Linked DNA regions of Homo sapiens: all the other regions are linked to region 1. Evidence: promoter capture Hi-C in 16 types of primary human blood cells and fetal thymus (Javierre and others, 2016). All regions are on one chromosome and are shown on one strand. Each heading gives the region's core, a stretch centred on a gene start or on the middle of the fragment in contact. The rest is flanking DNA. Distances are from core to core; before and after follow the strand shown. Region 1 holds the start of OR9Q1 (olfactory receptor family 9 subfamily Q member 1). Region 2 has its middle 16 kb from the start of OR5B21. Region 3 overlaps LOC105369313 (a long non-coding RNA gene). Region 4 holds the start of OR5B2 (olfactory receptor family 5 subfamily B member 2). Region 5 holds the start of OR5B17 (olfactory receptor family 5 subfamily B member 17).

Region 1 (3,747 bases), core at 428-2,927:
TGCCATCATGCCTGGCTAGTTTTGGTATTTTTAGTAGAGACAGGGTTTCACCATGTTGGCCAGGCTGGTCTCGAACTCCTGACCTCAAGTGATCCACCCACCTCGGCCTCCCAAAGTGCTGGGGTTACAGGTATGAGCCACCACACCCGGCCCAAAAGCTCTTTTACAGAGTCATTGTGGTTTTAAATATCAATTCAGTTTTCAAGTGAGAAAATGGAGGCACACAGAATTCAACTGATTTGCTTAAGCTCTTATAGAGTAGGGGTGCCGAGGGACTTTGTGGGGTTTTAGTTCTCCTTCATCTCCATCTGCCTCCTCAAGCCACCTCAAACCTACAATCTAAACAAAATCAATTTGCTTTTGTTATTCCAGGGCAGCTTCATGACCATTCCCAGAGTCCCACCAGATGGCCATTCCCATGCTGTCCCTTTATTGAAATTCTGTGGTCATCGCATAGTCCATAAGCAATAGAAGCAAAAGAGTAAGCAGGTTTTACCAGAGTGTACCTTTAAAGTTTCAAAGAACCCGCACATCCACTATCTCATCAATTCACAGAATGTTCTGAGAGACAACAAGAATAGATATTATTGCTGCCTAGAGATTAAGAGCTAGAAGCTCAGAAAGCTTGATTCTCACCTTGGTTCCTGTCTGCTATAGTGGACTCTCTGGCTTGGTTTGGGTCTGGGGTCTCTGTCACATATATGGCTGGAGAAGCCTCCCACTTATTTTCTTATACCTCAGTTTCCCATTTGTTCCCATCATAGGCAGACTATATGTCAGTAGCTTTGAGGAACAGATTGTATCTGCTCAGTATTGAAGTCCTGGAATAATGAGAGAAGCGCCCAGTTAATTGATCAGATTTTATTTTAGGAATATCACCCTCCCTGGGGAGGTGGTATGATGGAAAGATGGTGGGCTCTGGAGTCAGACTGGGCTGGATTCTCATCTGGACTCTGTCACTTACTAGCTGGTTGAAGCAGGGATTTTGAGAGCCCCACATACTAGGTCCTTTCCTCTTCCCAGCTACCTGGCAACTAAGCAAACCTAGGGCTTGGTGGAACAGAGTTTGAAAACAGCTGATAGAGTACAGCTTTCCGGGAAATTTAGAATTAAATTCTGTAGCTAAGAAAAAGAAATTATATGTAGAAATCAATTCAATTTGCCTCCCACCCAAGGCCATGAGAGCAGGCTGCTCCAGATATACAAGACATCATTCCTGCAGGCATTGTCAGTCTTGTAGTCCGTTGACAGTAATTGCATGGACAACACCCAAATTGATTGACTTTTCTGTAAGTATTGTTGAACTTCCTTTTCCTTAAATTTCCTTAAAAACAGGTAGCTAGAAATGGAAAGGAAACTAAGTACGCTGCCAACGTACAATCAGGAGCATGCAGCCACCCTTTTATTACATCAGTATATATTTATTGCATGTAGACTACATGTCAGTGACTTTGGCATTAGCAACACAGTAATGAACAAACAAACAAAGGCACTATCTTCAAGGAGCTTCCTTTTGTGTGTGTGTGTGTGTGTGTGTGCGTGATGTTATAGACAAACAAATAAATATCTACCAGATGGCAATGAAGCTGTGACCCAAAAAATCAAACTGAGAAGAGGGTCAGAGAGTGAAAGGAACTGCGTTTTCAGATAGGTGGTCAGAAAGGGCCTCTCTGTTAAGGTGGCCCTTGTGCAGGGAATTGAAGAAGTGCAGGAGGATGCCACACAGAGATGGTAGAGGGAGCGAAAGGAGCAAAGGCCCTAACTTTCCCTTAATGATGTCTCCTTCCATCTTTAGTCCAGCCCAGCAATGTACATGTTATCCTTCCCGTTTGAAGATGAAGACACTGAGGCTCAGAAAGATCAAACGCCTTTCCCAAACTCACAGCTACGGCCTGACGGAGGTAGGGTCAAATGCAGCTCCACTGATTTCAGAGACGGTGCTGTTAACACAGGGGGCTGTCTGCATGTTGGAAAGTGAGATGTGCTGTTGCTGTCACGTTGCAGTGGGAGTGGGGAAGCAGGCTGTGATGAGCTAGACCCAAGAGGAATCAGAGAGCAGGTCTCCGGGCTTCATCCTGGGCATCTCCTAGCCCCGCTGTCTGTCTCATAACACCCACCCACTGCGCCTGCTCACCTCGGTTTGTTGGCTGTTTTTTTTTGAAATCATTTCCTGGATCTTAGTAAGTTTATTTTCCAGTTCCTTTCACTTTTTGGGACTAGGCCCCCAGATGCCAGGTGGAGAGAACTGAAAGAGGGAGAAATCCAGCGTTTCTCACCAGGCTTGTCACGTAGCTACACAAGCAAATAGCTACAGGAACCAAGTTTCAATTTTCGTGCATGGGCCTCAAACTGTTTTTCCATATTTGTTAGGGAAAATCTTGGCCAGGGAGCACCGTCTTTTGAGGACACCAAATTGGGCCAAGTTCCTGTGCGGCCTTTCTCCTTATTTAGTGATTGCCCCGTGTGACCCTCTCCTCTCTGGCTGACCTCTTTTTTCCTGCATGGCACTTGGTGGATAAAGTTCCCTGAACCTTGGAGAGGAAGCGGATGCTGTTAATAGCCCTGGGAGTGTGACTGTGCTTTGCAGCTCACTGGAGCCTGTGGGATATTCCTCCAGCCTTGGCGGGGCTCCGAGCTGCAGGGAAATTAACCTCAGAGTCAGGGCAGGGAGCCAGGGTTGCAGGCACGTTGTCATTGGGTGAAATGAGATGGCAGAGGAAAATGGCACGGTGTGGAGGCTTTTTTTGTCAGAAGCTCTGGGGTTTGGCTCTTCTCTGTGCCATGTAGTTCTTTGATCTTGCCCAAGTTTACTTACTGTCTCTCTGAGCCTTCAGTGATTTCAATTGCGTGAAAACCAAGACAAATAACACCTCTATATCAAGAATAGTTCATAGGATCATAGTACAATATTGTGGGGATTAAGCCAGATGGTATCAGCCCATCAGAATCTAGCCCATGGGAGGGGCTCCGTAAATGACCCTTTCTTTTTGAGACGGAGTCTTGCCCTGTCGCCAGGCTGGAGTGCAGTGGCGCGATCTCAGCTCACTGCAACCTCCGCCTCCCGGGTTCAAGAGATTCTCCTGCCTCAGCCTCCTGAGTAGCTGGGGTGCCCGCCGTGCTACTATAGGGTGTGTCCTACAGGCGCACGCCACCATGACCAGCTACTTTTTGTATTTTTGGTAGAGACGGGGTTTCACCGTGTTGGCCAGGATGGTCTTGATTTCTTGACCTTGTGATCCGCCCGCTCAGCCTCCCAAGGTGTTGGGATTGCAGGCGTGAGCCACTGCGCCCGGCCTCCTTTCTCCCTTTTTGGAGAGAAGCTCATCTTCCTACCAACACATGACCCGAAGACGTGTTGGGGCAGGGGGGAAGAGGAGTAGAATTTGGATGCTCTGGAACTCTCGCTCAGAAAGAGTTTCTCATTAGACTTGTCTCTGATGACTTCAATGATTCCATCAGATATTCATTCCGTTGGGTTAGGCATTGCCTCCCATCTAGGTTGCTTTCATTTGATTTCAGTTAGAAGGTGGTGGAGCTGAGATTTGAAGGCATCAGGTGGTCTAATGCCTGAATGTAGCCTTAACCACTGTGCTCTCCTGACTCTCTCCGTGGACCTCACAACCTCTTCTAACAATTCCTCTGGGCATATTACCTACTTCCACCTGTCTCTCCCCTGGCTTGCTGGGGTGCCTCCCCCTCCCTCTACTGCACTTGGTTTTGTCAGTTAAGGATTGCCTTCTTTCCACC
Region 2 (3,747 bases), core at 858-3,357, 500 kb after region 1:
TCTGATAAGATTGGTTTCCTTACAAGAAGAGACACCAGATCTCTTGTGGTCTCTCTCTCTCTCCCTCTTTTCACCCTGTGAGGACAAAGCAAGAAGGCAGCTATATGCAAGCCAAGAAAAGAGCCCTCAACAGAATTCAAACCTGCAGACCTTAATCTGAGACTTCTCATCTCCAGATCTATGAGAAAATAAATTTCTGTGGCTTAAGACACCCCATTTATGGTATTTTGTTTTGGCAACTGCGCAGACTAAGACACAGGATAAATGTAAATTGATTTCTCTTATAATCGTCTAATTTTTCTTCCTTTTTTGTTTGCTAGTGGGGTATCAGGATGTTTTAAAACTAGTTTTCACTATAAAGAGTATTGCAGTAATATCAAATACGTAATAGTTCTCTCTGGATTATAATTAAACAAAGTAGCATGAATACCATCATTTCCAAAACAATTTTAAATCTTAGAGGATGACAACACCCTCACAACCTTTTTCTTCCCCTTTGTAATAGTGACAGATACTGCAAAATTGGACAGGAGCAAGAAGCTTGTACTCTAAATATGCGAGCTATCCACAGGATGACTTAACCTTAAACTACAGAGTTTCACTGTGCTCTGGTGTAAAAAGCATCAAGAAGTGATCAAACACTATTTTTGTGTATTAGTTTTTCATGACGATATACAATATACGTTCTGTACCAACACTGAGTTTATTTGTTCAATGTAAACAAAAAAGAGAATTTATTTGCTCACATAATTTCCTAGTCTATGGTTAAGATGCTGCTATGGTAGAACTGAGTGGCTCAAAAAAAGAAAACACAGCCTCTCCATTACTTGGTTCTACGTTCCACTGTGCTGGCCTCTTTCTCAGACAGCCTCCCCCAAGTGATGATAAAAATATTTATCAGCAGCAATGGGTTTTTATTATCCGCACAACTAGAATTCCAACGAATGGGAATGTTCTTTCTGAATAAATCTAGTAAAGGTCATTGGCTTTGCTGAGGTCACATGTCTATCCCTGATCCAATCACCTTCCTTCAGAAGAACAAAGTACTTTTATTGGTCAGACCTGGGACTGTACCTATTTCTGAGGCTGAGGTTAAAGTCAGCCTTGCCTAAACACATGGACCAAGAATGGGAGATGCAGTTCTTTGTGGAGAAACTAGACTGTGGGGAAAAACAGCTCAGAAATTCACTCCCCTTTCATTTCACGTCCCATCCTCAATTATATCCAATAATATTATTCAACATAGCATATCAAAGTCCAAAAACATTAAAATCCAAAATCAAATTCTCTAAGTTAAAGTTTAGAGAAAGTAAAGCCTTCTTTGATTCCTTGGTCTGTTCATTTTCAGCTTTAGGAGTTTTTCCAGTAACACCTGTGATCTGAGATATCTCTCGCTAGAATGGAGGTACTTATCCCAGGAAAAATGTTATTCCCATAATACAGTATTTATTGTGATTTAATGATATCCAAAATAGGAAGGGAAGATGGATGGCTCTCAACAGGGTGCCAGGAAGTTTATGCAATTGTCCGTAATCCATGGTCTATGAACCTAAACACAGTTAGGAGACTTCTCCCCACGGAAAATCAATTTAGGCACTATACGCTGACTATATCTAAGGTAGGGGAATGTCCTACATAAACTGTCTCCTTTCTTATAAATTTGAGACAACACTGCCTTCTGGCAAAGTTATAAATTTGCAACAAGTACAACCCAAGCACCAGCTTTTACCTGAGATTTCTTTCTTTTTTATCCTGTGGATCCCAAGAGATTTCCATTTCCCCACTGAGCTCTGTGTTCCCAGCACTTAATGTGCTGCACTGATGGTACCTAGTAACACAACCTCCACAATATTTTGGGGACAGGCAATCTCTTTTTCAGTGTCATATTTCAGTGGCTGCCACCACTGCCTTATTGAGGACGTGCTTATGCCTAAGACACTCGCCTCTAAAGGAAGCTGCTACTCTTTCTCACCTTGATTTCAGCTGCAAGATCTCCTTTTCCAGACTGCCAAACTGAAGGTGCTTTTGATGCTTCTCAGTGGTGCGCCCCTAGGGGCCCAGGAAGAGCAGTGCCACTGCCGCATGTTCCTCAGGACACCAGCATTCCTGGCTCTCTCCTCTGCCTTTGGGTTCTGTAAAGTTCTTGGACATGATCCCTCAGGATACTGACAATGCCTGCTTGCTTACCTTCTACATTACCTTGAAACTCAGAAACTCCAATATTTTCACTTTTGAACACACGAATTCAAGATTCATTGTCCTCTTCCCGCTTCTTACCAATATCCAGCTTTTAAAGTATTCACATCTCCTCCACAAAGCCCTTGTGCTTTCGGGAAACTTAGTCCTGCTTGTAACTTTGGAAATAATTCAGTTTGGTTTAAGCCAAGCTGCAGAATCCATTCCCCCAGCAAAAATTACTGGTATGTGACCTAGGCTAGACCAGTGAGGATGAATCCCAGAACTTTTGCTTGCAAATGCTCGATAAAAGCACTCTTGCTCCCCCTACTGGTTATGAAACAAGAAGCATGCGCTGGCAGCCATCCTACAACTCCAAGAAGAGTGTGTGATAGAACTTGGATGGAAAAATAATTGTTGTCTTTATCAAAGTATTACCTTGGAAGAGACTAAATTTACTTCAAAGAAAAACTGACCAAACTAATTGAGGGACTCCCCTTTGAGAATACAGTGCCAACTCTAGAGCATATTCCTTTCTATATGTTTATATTCACTGGTGGAAAATCCCTGTCCTGTGAGGGTGGGTTTTATTTTTTAAACATCCTAGAAGTTACTCAAAACCAAAAGTAAATAAGTACGTGATCAATTTTAGTAATGGCATTTCCAGGGTTTTTAAAAAGCAGAACTTTTTACTTGTGAGTAGTTTCCTTATTGCTAAAACACTGGTCCTGAAGTCAGTATCTCTTTTTGAGCAAATAAAACCACTTCCGTTCAATGTGGGAAGAAAGTGTTTTCACTTCTTAATTACATCTTAGTGAACTCTGGATTTTCTTTGACATTTAAAAATAGTTAAATTCTATTGAATCTCAAAATAGCTAATCCTTTTTAAAAAAGTTTTAGCACCTGTACATTTCTTTTTAAGGGCTAAAACTCCAAGTTTATTTTGTCAAATTGCCAAGGCAACCAAGAACATTGCCATATTAACACCTGCGTGTGACATCGTTGAGTGAAGACATTGCAAAGAGGATGTTTAAAAGTTGAATGTGTGTTCTGCATAGTCTGGCGCTCTCAGACAGCCAAACAGGATAGAGGCCAGATGGTTCCGTATCTGTGTGGCCTCCCACATATCTTACATGCATTTGGAGTTCCTATTTTATAGAATTAACTGTTGCCAATTCCTTGTAACTCTCACAACCCCCTTATTATCCATTCCAACAAAGGACATAGATATAATAAAGTTTGGCAAGAAACATTTAATCCATTTCAGCTCTCCCAAGTAGTACTATTCCTCTATCAATCTAAAGACATCAAATTTTGTCCTATTTTTAAAAATACCTCCAGTGAAGGAGTTTTCGCCAGTAACTTATCTCAGAATCAAGGATTCTAAGAGTCTGGTTTTTGTTATAACAAATAATCACACAATTATTTTTAAGACCACGGGAAGAAAGATATTGTACTGATCTTCTCAATATCCCTTTTGCAGAAAGATTAGTCCTTGTGAAGCTTACTTTTATAAAAAGTAAACTGTAGGACAGTAAACTGACAGGACATAAGAAAATCAGATTCTCTGAT
Region 3 (3,747 bases), core at 429-2,928, 480 kb after region 1:
TATTTTTTCAGAGTCTTGGTCAGGGAAGGCAAAAACTCAGTTTCACACCTCGGTTCCTCTTTTTAACAGTAGACAGGTAAGTTAACTTCTCAAAGCTTTGGTTTCCTCCACTGCAAAACTGAAGCACAAATAACTATATCATGGTGAATAAATGAAGGTAAAAGTATAAAATTTCTTTTTATACCACAAGTACTTTATAAAATATAAAAAAGGGTCAAACAAGATTTGGTTCTTTGTGAGTTTAAGCAAGTTAAACTGTAAAAATCGGGGTTTTTAATTGTGAAATGAGAGGATTGGTTTAGATTAGTTTTAAATTCTTTCAGCTTTTGGCTAAAGAGTCTATGACTCCGCAATTCCAGCTTCAATTGCCAAGGAATTTAATATTTTAATTTTCCACTCCCAATACATAAACCTCAACAAATGCTTTAATGCACAAAGGGAACATCCTATTTAGAATAATTCAATCATAATCCATTTTTGAAAGAATAATCTATCCTGATATAAATAACTGCCCTGATTTATGAATTTTCACATTCTTTTTTGAACATTTCAGGTAGGAAGTCCCTGTGCCTTTATTGCACTGCATTGAGCGGCAGGCCCTACGCACAAGGTCTCTCATTCATCAGACAATTCCTGCAGGGAGCAAGTGGGTGTTGTTATTAACCAAATGGGCATTTAGTCTCCATTTGACAGATTTCCTATGTGGAAGGGAAGAGCTCCTTGCAGTAACGTATACTCTGTGAATTGATGTCTTGCTGGCGACAGGACATCTCCTTCTGAGTAGTTTCTATAAATGAATACCCGTGTAATGTCAGCTTGAAATATGTCTGCTGTAGAGCTGGGAACTTGGAGGGCAGGAAGTTAAACAAGGAATGAAAATAAAAGCTAGGATTTGGATGGGACGAGCTTCACCTATCAGTCCTTGGACTTCCTATTTTTGCTCAGGCAGCTCAAGAGCCAAAATAAGAAGTCCAGGGAGAGCTAAGTGAAGAAAGAGCTAGTATAGAAATCTCAATGGTATGAAATACACATTCATTATGATGGGCACATTCACATACTTAATTTCATATTACCCTCACACTTTATCCTGTATATTGGGTTCAGTAAGACTAAATGACTTTCTTGAGGTCACACAATTGATAAGAACAGTTAGAATTTTCATCCAGCTTTTGATAGTACTCTTTTATACCTATTTACAGTCAGATAGAACACTTGTTTGAGGTGATTTCAACATAAAATATAAATATGTAGACATTGAGCCCTTAAATCTCAGGAGGCCCACATTTTCCTGCCTAAACTGAGGTATAGAGGCATAACAAAATATGTCCATAAGAATGATAAAATGGACTTTGGGGTCTCGATGGGGGAAGGTTGGGAGGGAGGTGAGGAATAAAAGACTATATATTGGGCACACTGCTCGGGTGATGGGCACATTAAAATCTCAGAAACCACCACTAAAGGACTTATCCATGTAACCAAAAACAACCTGTACCCCCAAAACTAATGAAATAAAAATTAAAACCATAAAAGAAATAAACATGCCCAGATACACATCTTAATATATACTGTAATGGTTATGATATATAGACTCTAGACTTTAATTTTTTTATAGAAATCTAAATGGCCTAGTGGTGAGGAAAGTTCCTGCTTGGGCTGGGCATAGAAAGAAGTTGGGAAAGAAAAAGAGGAGAAGGATAAAATGAAGTAAAGAAGGAGGAGCAGGATGAGGAGGGAAAAAAGTCAATTATATCAAGTAGGGAAAATGTGTACCTGAGATTGGAATGCACCCAGTGCTTGGATAGCTGCTTCCCAGGCTCTTCTCCAAATGCAGATACTCTTGAGCTCTGTAGATTTCAATGAGAAAGATTCCTATATGCAGTGGATCCTGGCCTGTAAAGGCTGTTCTTCCTGTGTGTTGCTGAATAGGCCTCATTGCTAAAGAAGAGGGGAGGGAGGGGGCTGAATGGGGGAGGTATAGGTTGTCTAGGCCTTGGGCTCAGAAGCTCCTGATCTTTTCAGGTGATGGCAACCATGTGCCAGAGAAAGCTATTCTCATGTTTCTCATGTTCCATAACTCCTTCTTTGCAATTTTTCCCAGAAGACTTATGATTTATCCTCCTCAGACAGAGGCTGCCCTGTACATAATGGAGCTTGATAATCTGAAAACTAAATTGACATTTTAAGCCAACTGAGTTAGCCAACCAAGATTTCTGGTTTTCATCTATAAGGTCAAAATTAATTTGTTGGGTTTTTTGGGGAGATTTTGAAATCATGATCTATTGTGGTGACTTAGATTAACTGTAGTTATAAACACCATCAAGGAGTTGATACGTGAGAAGTGAAATTAATCACCACTCCCTTCCCACACACACACATTTGCTCACACCATCTAGCACATGAAACAAGACCTGAAGGTGTACTAGCACTGTGCGTCACCGTGCTGTTCCTAAGAAGTAAATTTCCAGGCAGGCTTTTTTATTCTTGTAGCATCTAATTACAGAACACCGGAATGCAATGGAGACCCAGAGGTGAGCTGAATTATTGAAAAAGTAAAAGCAAAGACAGTCCAGAAAGCTATTATATATCTTCATAATAGATTCACCAAACTTAAGGGTGCTAAGAAATGCAAGCATTTAATTCAGAAAACAAATATATTTTTTCATAGCTCTAGGGAAAACTGCTTTTTTTCTCTAAACCTTCTGGAAGTTTTGGTAATTATGTTAGACAGAGACAAGAAACATAAAAGATAGTGTAGGCTCTCCGAAGGAAGTTGTATTTAGTCAGGTTAAAGTTGAAGTAATTCATCTATTAAAGCATTCCCATATTTCTGTATATAACAAGGTGTAATGTTTCCCCAATGATTTAGCAAAAGGGAATGGAAATTACAAAGGCACATGACTAGTGAGTAGGATAGGAATGTGGGTAGAGAAGGGAGAGTAAGGGGTTGGAAAGATTTAATCGTCAGCTACCTGACTCGATCTAGTGCCTTGTCCTTTAAATTACAACTTTCTCTCAAATATCATTTAAAATATTGAAACATCCTTTGTCTACCTCAGAAAGTCCAACTTTCAAACTCGCAGAACAAAAGAATAAAAAAGATACTGTGTGTTCAGTTGATAAAAATGAAGGTGAAATCTTTACACCAAGTTTAATAGTGAATGAAAAATTCTTACAATTAAAAACAGGATGAGGAAAATTTGGTACATTCATTTGTATGCTTCAATCTTCTGCTTTAAACCACGTCAAGAAACTAAAGCAAGAAAAGCTTAACTGTCCCATGTTGTTGTTCACTAAATATAAGATTATCTTTCTAAGTAAGACTTTCAACGTGCTGCTTTTTACATCTTCTAATAGCAGAAGTAACCGCTGTTCTTGGGGAAGAAAGAACTGAAACCAGTCAAACGTTAAAAGTCATGATGGCATTTAGGTGTGAGAGAAAGTTTATCCCTTAATTGCTTGCCTACTTCCCATTCACATTTAATATTGGGGGTAAAGTTTGTTGAGTATTTTCCAGAGAGCACTTTTCACTTCTTTGTTCCTAAGGCTGTATATCAAGGGATTCAGCATGGGAATCACCACTGTGTAAAACACAGAGGCTATTTTGTCTGTGTCCACGGACTGGCTGGAGTTGGGCTGTAAGTACATGAAGATGATTGTGCCATAGAAGATGGACAAAGCAGTGAGATGGGAAGCACAGGTGGAGAAGACTTTCTTCTGCCCTTCAGCAGAATGCATCCTCTGAATGGT
Region 4 (3,747 bases), core at 493-2,992, 400 kb after region 1:
AATTTTAAATGATGAGAATAATACCATCTTCTATTATTTGAATAAAATCACCATTTTCCCAATTAATGGAGATTGTTGTAACACCTGGACTGTGGCTAAATAGCGTGATAGCATGAAAATATTAAAAGCTGGGAAACTGAACTCTGATTACTCAATGGGAAAATGTTTGCCCTTGAACTTTTATATAACACATATTCTATTACTACAACCTAAACAGACCGTAGAACAGAGCTAGAAACTTACCTTGCTCTTCAAGGAAGATGACACACTTTCAGTTGGTATCTTCAAATTGCAAGTCCTACTCAAAGAAGAAAGAAAAGCTCCTATTTAAGAAGTTATTATTTAATGTCTAGTCACAAATATTGAAGTTCTCTAGAGGGAGGGAGATTTAAGGAAAAAGTAATGACTAGGTGGAGATTAGAAAATATTCTCCAACTTGTCACACAGGGCTGCTGCTGTGAGGAAAAATAGAAGTCTCTGAATGCACTCTGTAAAGTCCTAAAGAGCTGTAAGAAGGGATCATCGTATCTGCAATGAACATCATTTTTAGCTGGGGGTCTTATCCCTGGCCATTGTTGCAGACTCAGAGTAATATACCAGTGTGAAATAAGGCCACTTAGTACAATGGACAACCTTTTACACTGAGATCAATAAATGATCACCAAAAGGTGACACACAGGGTGGAACCTCTAACATGATGTTAAATAGAGTCATGTTGGGATGTTAGAGACCAATGACTGGGAACTAACAATAATTGAGGAATTTGAACGTACATAAAGTTCTCAGGGGACAAGTTACCCATGAGAATAACCACAGTCTCTCACTCCAATCATCTAGAGAAGCAATAATTAAACTGCATATGAAAGCCTGGTTCCATTTTCTTAGGAAGAACACCAGTGTATTTACTTTACTCAGGGTTATTTCTTCTTGGTAATGTGAACATCTTCAGAAAAGATTCATCATTAACTTTCCTGGCAGAAATCAGACAGAATCATGAGTGGCATAATGGAAACTAGGCTAAAGTGTTATGTAAGTTTCGTTGGCCGATGGCAGCATAACTTCACAAAGTTCATATTGAGATTATAGGTTGTATAAACACTTACGCACTTCAGTTCTCTCATTAATAAAACAGAGATGAGTATTTTTTTTCTGAGATAGCAGAATGGATGCTTTGCCAGAATCCTTGCTCACTTGGAAATAGCAAGTGGTGTGTAGAGATTCACACTGTGAATTTGCATCCAAGTAGAAACATGATTGTTCAATATAAAAGTGAAAGAAAACTTTGTATACTGCTGAAAACAAGACAGACAGCAGCCCAAATGGAAAACTGTGAATCAGTCCCTCCATATGTGAGAGGGGGAGTGCTCCACAATACACATACCCACCAGGAAGCCAGGCAACCTAGGCTATCGGGAACTTTTTGAGTTTCCCAAAACCTGGATCAGACTTGGGGAACAGTCAAGGGACTGTGAGAAGGAAGAGCACTGGGAAGTACCCCACATGCACTCTCAGACTTAAGGACCAATGGAAGGAGGTCATTCCTGATGCTAACTCATAGTGGGTTGCACAGGAACCTGCCAGCTAGCATTGGTGTCAGTCACTGGTTTGTAGAGTTGTTAGCCAGAGATTTGTGATCTTACCTTGATTGGAGGAGGAATCCACATGGCCAGAATGGAGAGGCAAGAATAGCATGGGCTTCAGCTGTGGACAATGGAATTGGGAATCCACCTTGCAGGACAAGACCAGGAGGGTTTGAGTCTGAGAGGAGTGGTTTTGACCACGGTAGCAAGTTTTGCAGCCTGAGGCATTTTCACACTCTAAAGGCAAAGTGCATTTGAGTTGGCTAACTGTCCCAACGCACTGCTAGTGTCCAGCTGTGGGAAAGAGCCCTGCTGGGTTTAATGAGAGCAAACTGGGTCTTACTACCCCTTGATAGGCCATGGAGCCTAGGATGTACTCTTTCCCTCATGGGGTCATTGGCATAGCAGCAGTTGCTCTGCTTATTGCTGGAGCGTTTCTTCAGAGGTCTGAGGATTGCTCTCTGAACCTTGTAAGGGCCAGCACTTGTACATGCCATCGTGGGGTTCAAGTGCAGACTTGCACAACCCAACACTGCCCAGCTTTGCCCTCTTGCCTTGGATACAAAGCATGGAACCAGGACCACTGTGTGTTCCATAGCCCAAATCATTATCTGGGACACCCAAACCAGTACACTAAGGATATTTACAAACAAGAAAATCATACAGAGTCTACACCAGTTTAGACAGCCAGAAACAAAGCCAAATAACCCTACTCAGCATACATTATAGTCACATTCCCAAGAAAAATAAGTCACACCCCAATGAAAGTAAATTCAATAATAGAAGTGACTAATTCTCCAGATGCAAAGAAATCAGGATAATAATACTGGAAGTATGAAAAACAAAGTGCTATAACACCTCCAAAGGAGCACAGTAATTCTCTAGCAATGGATTTGAACCAATAAGAAATCTTCAAAATGTCAGATAAAGAATTCAAAATACTGATTTTAAAGAAGTTCTATAAGACATAAGAGAAAACTGAATACCAATGCAAAGACATCAGAAAATCAATTCCTGATATGAGCTAGAAATTTACCAAGAAGGTAGAGATCTTAAAGAAACAAACAACTTCTGGAAATGAAAATTTCACTGAAAGAATTATGAAGAACAGTTGAAAGCCTTAAGAATAGACTAGAACGAGCAGAGAAGAGAATCTCAAAATTTGAAGACAGGTCTTTTGAATTAATTCAATCAGACAAAAATAAAGAAAGGAGAATAAAGAAGAACAAACAAAGCCTTTAAGAAGTATGGGACTACATAAAGCAACCAAACATATGAAGTATAAGTATTTCCAAGGGAGAAGAAAAAGCAAAAAGTTCAGAAACCCTATTTAAGGAAATAATTGACAACAAGTTTCCCGAGTTTGGGAAGAGATTTACACATCCAGATACAATAAGCCCAACAAACTACAGGAAAATACATTGTAAAAAGGACCTCAACATGACATATAGTCATCAGATTGTCTAAAGTCAACATGAAAGAAAAATCCTAAAATCAGCATGAGAAAAGTGTCTAGTCATCTATAAAGAAAACACCATTAGAATAATAGTGGACTTTAAAAGCAGAAACCTTACAAGCCAGAAAAAATAGAGATTCTATTTTTAAAGTACTTAAAGGAAAAAAAAAACCCTGTCAACCACCAATTTTATATCCTATTCAGAATAAGCTTCATAAATGGAGGAGAAATAAAGTTCTTCTCAGACAATCAAATGCTGAGGGAATTCATTACCACTAGACTGGCCCTATAAGAAATTCTGCAGGAGTTCTAAATGTGGATACAAAATGTCAATATTCACCATCATATAAACACAAAATTACAAAAAGTAAAAAAAGGAAATCCAATGACTACATGACAAAACTCCACTAAAGCACAAAGACAAAGGAAAAAAAGAAATGAAGAATCTACAAAACAGCTAGATTACAATCTACATTATGTCAGAAACAAAAGCTCACATGACAATATTAACCTTAACAATAAATGAATTAAAATTTTCCACTTAAAAGATATACATTGATGACATGGATAAAAACATGAAGCAACTACATGCTACTTAAAAGAAACTCACCTTACTGGTTGGTAGACAGTTATAGACTGAAGGTAAACAGGTGGAAAAGATATTCCACACAGATGAAAACCAAAAGTGGGTAGTAGTAGTTACACTTATAT
Region 5 (3,747 bases), core at 674-3,173, 340 kb after region 1:
ATATAAGCATTGCAGTTCTTTTTGTAATCGTTTTTACTGTGCATCTTATTTTTGATGGTTCTGTAAATGGAATTTTCTTCATTTTATTTTTAGATTACCTATTGCTAGTATATAGAAATACCACTTATTCTGGTATGTTGTTATTGTATCCCTGACACTTTACTGAATTGATTTATTAGTTCTAATAATTTTTAGGGGATTACTTATGATCTTCTGTTTTTTGAGACGGAGTCTCGCTCTGTCACCCAGGCTGGAGTCCAACGGCACGATCTCAGCTCACTGCAACCTCCGCCTCCTGGGTTCAAGCGATTCTCCTGCCTCAGCCTCCCAAGTAGCTGGAACTACAGGCATCCACCACCATGTCTGGCTAATTTTTTTGTATTTTTCGTTGAGACAGGGTTTCATCACGTTGTCTCGCCTGGTTTTGAACTCCTGACCTCAAGTGATCCACCTGCCTTGGCCTCTCAAAGTGCTGGGATTACAGGCATGAGCCACTGGGCCAGGTCATGATTTTATATTTTAAATAGCAAACAGAGATTCTTTTATTTCTTTCTCTCAGTTCAAGATGTCTTTGATAGTCATAGGCTAAGTTTAAAAAAAAAAGAATTATCTCTGCCTTTTAATTCTAATATATTATTATTCTAATATAGTTATTTACCATTTATAAATTGTCATATGAACAAGCTGTACCAAATACCTAAAATTATTAATGCCTGAAATATTAGTTTATTAAGAAACAGTAATGACTCATAGTTGGCTAAAATATGACAAGAGACAACACATATTTCATTAAACTCCATGAGAAATTGTCATCGTATTTTTCTAACTCGTGGATACTTAGAACTGTTTCTCAACTAAAGACAAAAATAATATTAGATGAAATTTTACATTCTATATACCATATAGCATTTTAACATTTGAGTTATTGTATAAAGTAGATCTAAGTGAGATAAAATAACATTGTGATGATTTTGCATCATTAAAAGACTGAATCTAGAGAATATTTTGCCTTCTCAACAACCTTCATGAATGCATTCTTCACGTCTTTGTTCCTCAGGGTATAGACTATAGGACTGAGCATGGGGATGATCATAGTGTAGAACACAGATGCAATTTTGTCTGTGTCCATGGAATGACTGGAACTTGGTCGTATGTACATGATGATGACAGTTATATAAAATAAGAAAATGGCAATGAGGTGAGAACCACAGGTAGATAAAGGCTTCTGGTATCCCTTACCTGTGTGCCTCTTAAGAATGGTGATCAATATGAACAGATAGGAAATCAAGGTAACAAGAAGTGCAAAAAAGACATTAAAACTTGATATAAGAACAAGAATCAACTCACTAATGTGTTTCTCAGAGCAGGTCAGAGTAATGACTGCTGGTTTGTCACAGAAAAAGTGATGAATCACATTGGACATGCAGAAAGAGAGGCGAAATGTATCTCCAATTTGGATAGAAGCATTCAGAAAACCAATGACATAACAGCCTATAGCCAGACAAGCACACACACGTGTTGTCATGGTGGTGGTATAATGTAGGGGGTTACACACTGCTGCGTAGCGGTCATAGGCCATTGAGGACAAGAGGTAATTTTCCACAGTGGCAAAGACTGCACAAAAGAACATCTGAGCAGCACAGGCACTGTAGGAGATGGCTTTGTCTTCTATAAGCAACCCAGTTAAAACCTTTGGAGTGACAGCTGAGGAGTAACCAATGCCTGCAAGAGACAGGTTACTGAGAAAAAAGTACATGGGAGTGTGGAGATGAGAGTCCAGCAGGATTAATATGATCATCCCCAGGTTCCCAGTCAGAGTGATGAGGTAGATGAGGGTAAACATGATAAAGAGGGGAACCTGTAGTTCTGGGGCATTGGTTAGACCAAGCAGGATGAATTCACTCACCTCTGTATTATTCTCCATGGATGTTATTTTAGAATCACAAGATACTCTGTAGCAAGGAGAGATAAAAAAGAAAAACCCTGTGATGAACAAAACAGAGTTGCACAAAACTGAAATGTATGTGTTATTTTATTATAGCAATGATTTGTTTTCTATATTTCCTAGATCAAAATTATGGATATGAAAACACAATTTAGTGGATAACTTATCTATACAGTAATAGACTTTTGAAGAAAAAGGGTCTTCGTGGATCATCTTTCCAGCTTCTTAATTTTGTGTCTGAGTAAATGGAGTCATAGGAAGGGAATAATGAGTTGTCCAATGTCACATGCCTGAAGTGAATCTATCTCCCAAATAATATGTTTTTTGAATCTAACATCTTAAACACACTTATAGTTGTCTCATGCCAGATGCTTTATATGTACATCCTCATAGAATTCTCTCATTAATCCTATTATTTAATTAGTTATTATTGCCAATTTATACATGAAGTATCTTGGTAGAAAAAAAGAGTTTGAATAATTTATTCAAGATTACACAAGCACCAGTAGATAGAACCAAGCTTTAGACACAATCAGGGTGGTTCCCAACCTAAATTAAAAGAATTAAAATTCTTTTAATGAATTTGAATTATTTTAAATGTTAATCTATTTATATGTACTCATTCTATCTATTATACCAAGCATAACATATGAAGTTGCATAGTAGAGCAATGCACAAATAAATGCATACTAGATGAAGTGGAATAAATGCAGCATTAATGTCATGTGCAACCAACAAAGCCAATTCTGCAGAGAAGATATAGCATTGGGTATAAAATCTAGGACTCTAAGAAGAGGTAGATTTGTATTAACTCATAAGCCCTAACATTTACTACTTGGGAGACACTGGTCTTAATCTAACTTCCTTGAATCTCATTTTATCCATTAGTCAAATGAAGATGATATTAGGACTTATGTCAAGAGATTATTTTGAGAGTTAAATGAGATAATGCTCAGCTGTTGGCAAAATGTGGGCACTCAGCACAGTCCTGATGAGTGCTAGCTATAATATTATTATTAGGATGGAATGGTGGTGCATATGTTGGTGTAGAACACATAGAGGTGACACACAGGGCTGAAGGTGTGGGTGGGTTTTCAAGTTGGCAGTTTTACTCTGTCTGATCTGTATTTTCTTACACACTATGTCCAGTCTTTTGTTTCCTTCAGCATTTCTCACTCTATCCATTCTTTGCCAGGTGAATGACTGTGTCAGCCATCTAGCATGAGAACCCAGGGATCTTCAAGTCCTGTTGTGTTTAATTTCTCCCTTTCAAACTACATTTTACCTTGTGTTGAAACAATCCCCTTTTATCTTAGACACATTCTTCCTGTCATTACTCTCAACACTTAGCAGGATATCAGATATTGAGGGTTGGAGGTTCGTAGTCTTGGGGGCTGACTGTAGGCTGCAGATGTGTTTATGCACAATCTTTTTATTTGAATTTGAATCTGTCAGAAGGACATTCATTTCCTCATAACCACTATTGATTGTCTATCATTTTTCTCCTGCCCCCAGTACACATCAGTTGACACTTCTAGAATTCAAATTATTTGTTTGCCAAAAAACTACCCACATAATAATATAAGCTACAATTTTTATTGTTTTTCTTTAAAAATTTACTATGTTCTATGACAACTGAAAGGTTCTCACTGTACCTACCTGGATAATCTAGGATAATCCTACCATCTCAACATGTTAATTTAATCACTGTGAAGTTTGTAAAAAAATCACATAAGGCCACATGTTTATGGGTTTCAGAAGTTAAGATATGACCACCTTTGGGGAACATTATTAAGGCTGCC

What was found. The method cuts DNA at HindIII sites, captures the fragments that hold promoters and counts their contacts. A CHiCAGO score of 5 or more calls a contact.
Region 2: a fragment that was not itself captured here is called in contact with the fragment with the promoter of OR9Q1 in region 1 in 1 of 17 cell types (endothelial precursors); the score reaches 8.2 in endothelial precursors.
Region 3: a fragment that was not itself captured here is called in contact with the fragment with the promoter of OR9Q1 in region 1 in 1 of 17 cell types (endothelial precursors); the score reaches 9.0 in endothelial precursors.
Region 4: the fragment with the promoter of OR5B2 here is called in contact with the fragment with the promoter of OR9Q1 in region 1 in 17 of 17 cell types (activated CD4 T cells, M1 macrophages, naive CD8 T cells and 14 more); the score reaches 18.3 in activated CD4 T cells.
Region 5: the fragment with the promoter of OR5B17 here is called in contact with the fragment with the promoter of OR9Q1 in region 1 in 16 of 17 cell types (erythroblasts, M2 macrophages, monocytes and 13 more); the score reaches 11.9 in erythroblasts.

The regions. Positions count from the first base shown.
Region 1 is chr11:58,022,204-58,025,950 of GRCh38, forward strand. It overlaps OR9Q1 (olfactory receptor family 9 subfamily Q member 1), which reads left to right and starts at 1,678. Exons shown (of 3, transcript NM_001005212.4): 1 at 1,678-1,901. LOC107984331 (a long non-coding RNA gene) reads right to left here and starts at 2,216. Exons shown (of 3, transcript XR_001748218.1): 1 at 1,884-2,216; 2 at 637-821. The HindIII fragment of the contact is 4,257 bases long and covers 623-3,747 here.
Region 2 is chr11:58,522,264-58,526,010 of GRCh38, forward strand. No RefSeq gene overlaps it. Among named protein-coding and RNA genes, the nearest start is that of OR5B21, 16 kb to the left of the region's middle. RefSeq lists a silencer at 2,333-2,627. The HindIII fragment of the contact is 3,138 bases long and covers 539-3,676 here.
Region 3 is chr11:58,503,699-58,507,445 of GRCh38, forward strand. It overlaps LOC105369313 (a long non-coding RNA gene), which reads right to left. Exons shown (of 5, transcript XR_007062673.1): 3 at 1,771-1,844. OR5B21 (olfactory receptor family 5 subfamily B member 21) reads right to left here. Exons shown (of 1, transcript NM_001005218.3): 1 at 3,109-3,747. The coding sequence ends at 3,478. Among named protein-coding and RNA genes, the nearest start is that of OR5B21, 2.5 kb to the right of the region's middle. The HindIII fragment of the contact is 3,170 bases long and covers 94-3,263 here.
Region 4 is chr11:58,426,379-58,430,125 of GRCh38, forward strand. It overlaps OR5B2 (olfactory receptor family 5 subfamily B member 2), which reads right to left and starts at 1,743. Exons shown (of 3, transcript NM_001005566.3): 1 at 1,641-1,743; 2 at 244-298. The HindIII fragment of the contact is 6,968 bases long and covers 1-3,244 here.
Region 5 is chr11:58,357,146-58,360,892 of GRCh38, forward strand. It overlaps OR5B17 (olfactory receptor family 5 subfamily B member 17), which reads right to left and starts at 1,924. Exons shown (of 1, transcript NM_001005489.2): 1 at 979-1,924. The coding sequence starts at 1,924. The coding sequence ends at 980. The HindIII fragment of the contact is 4,652 bases long and covers 1-2,463 here.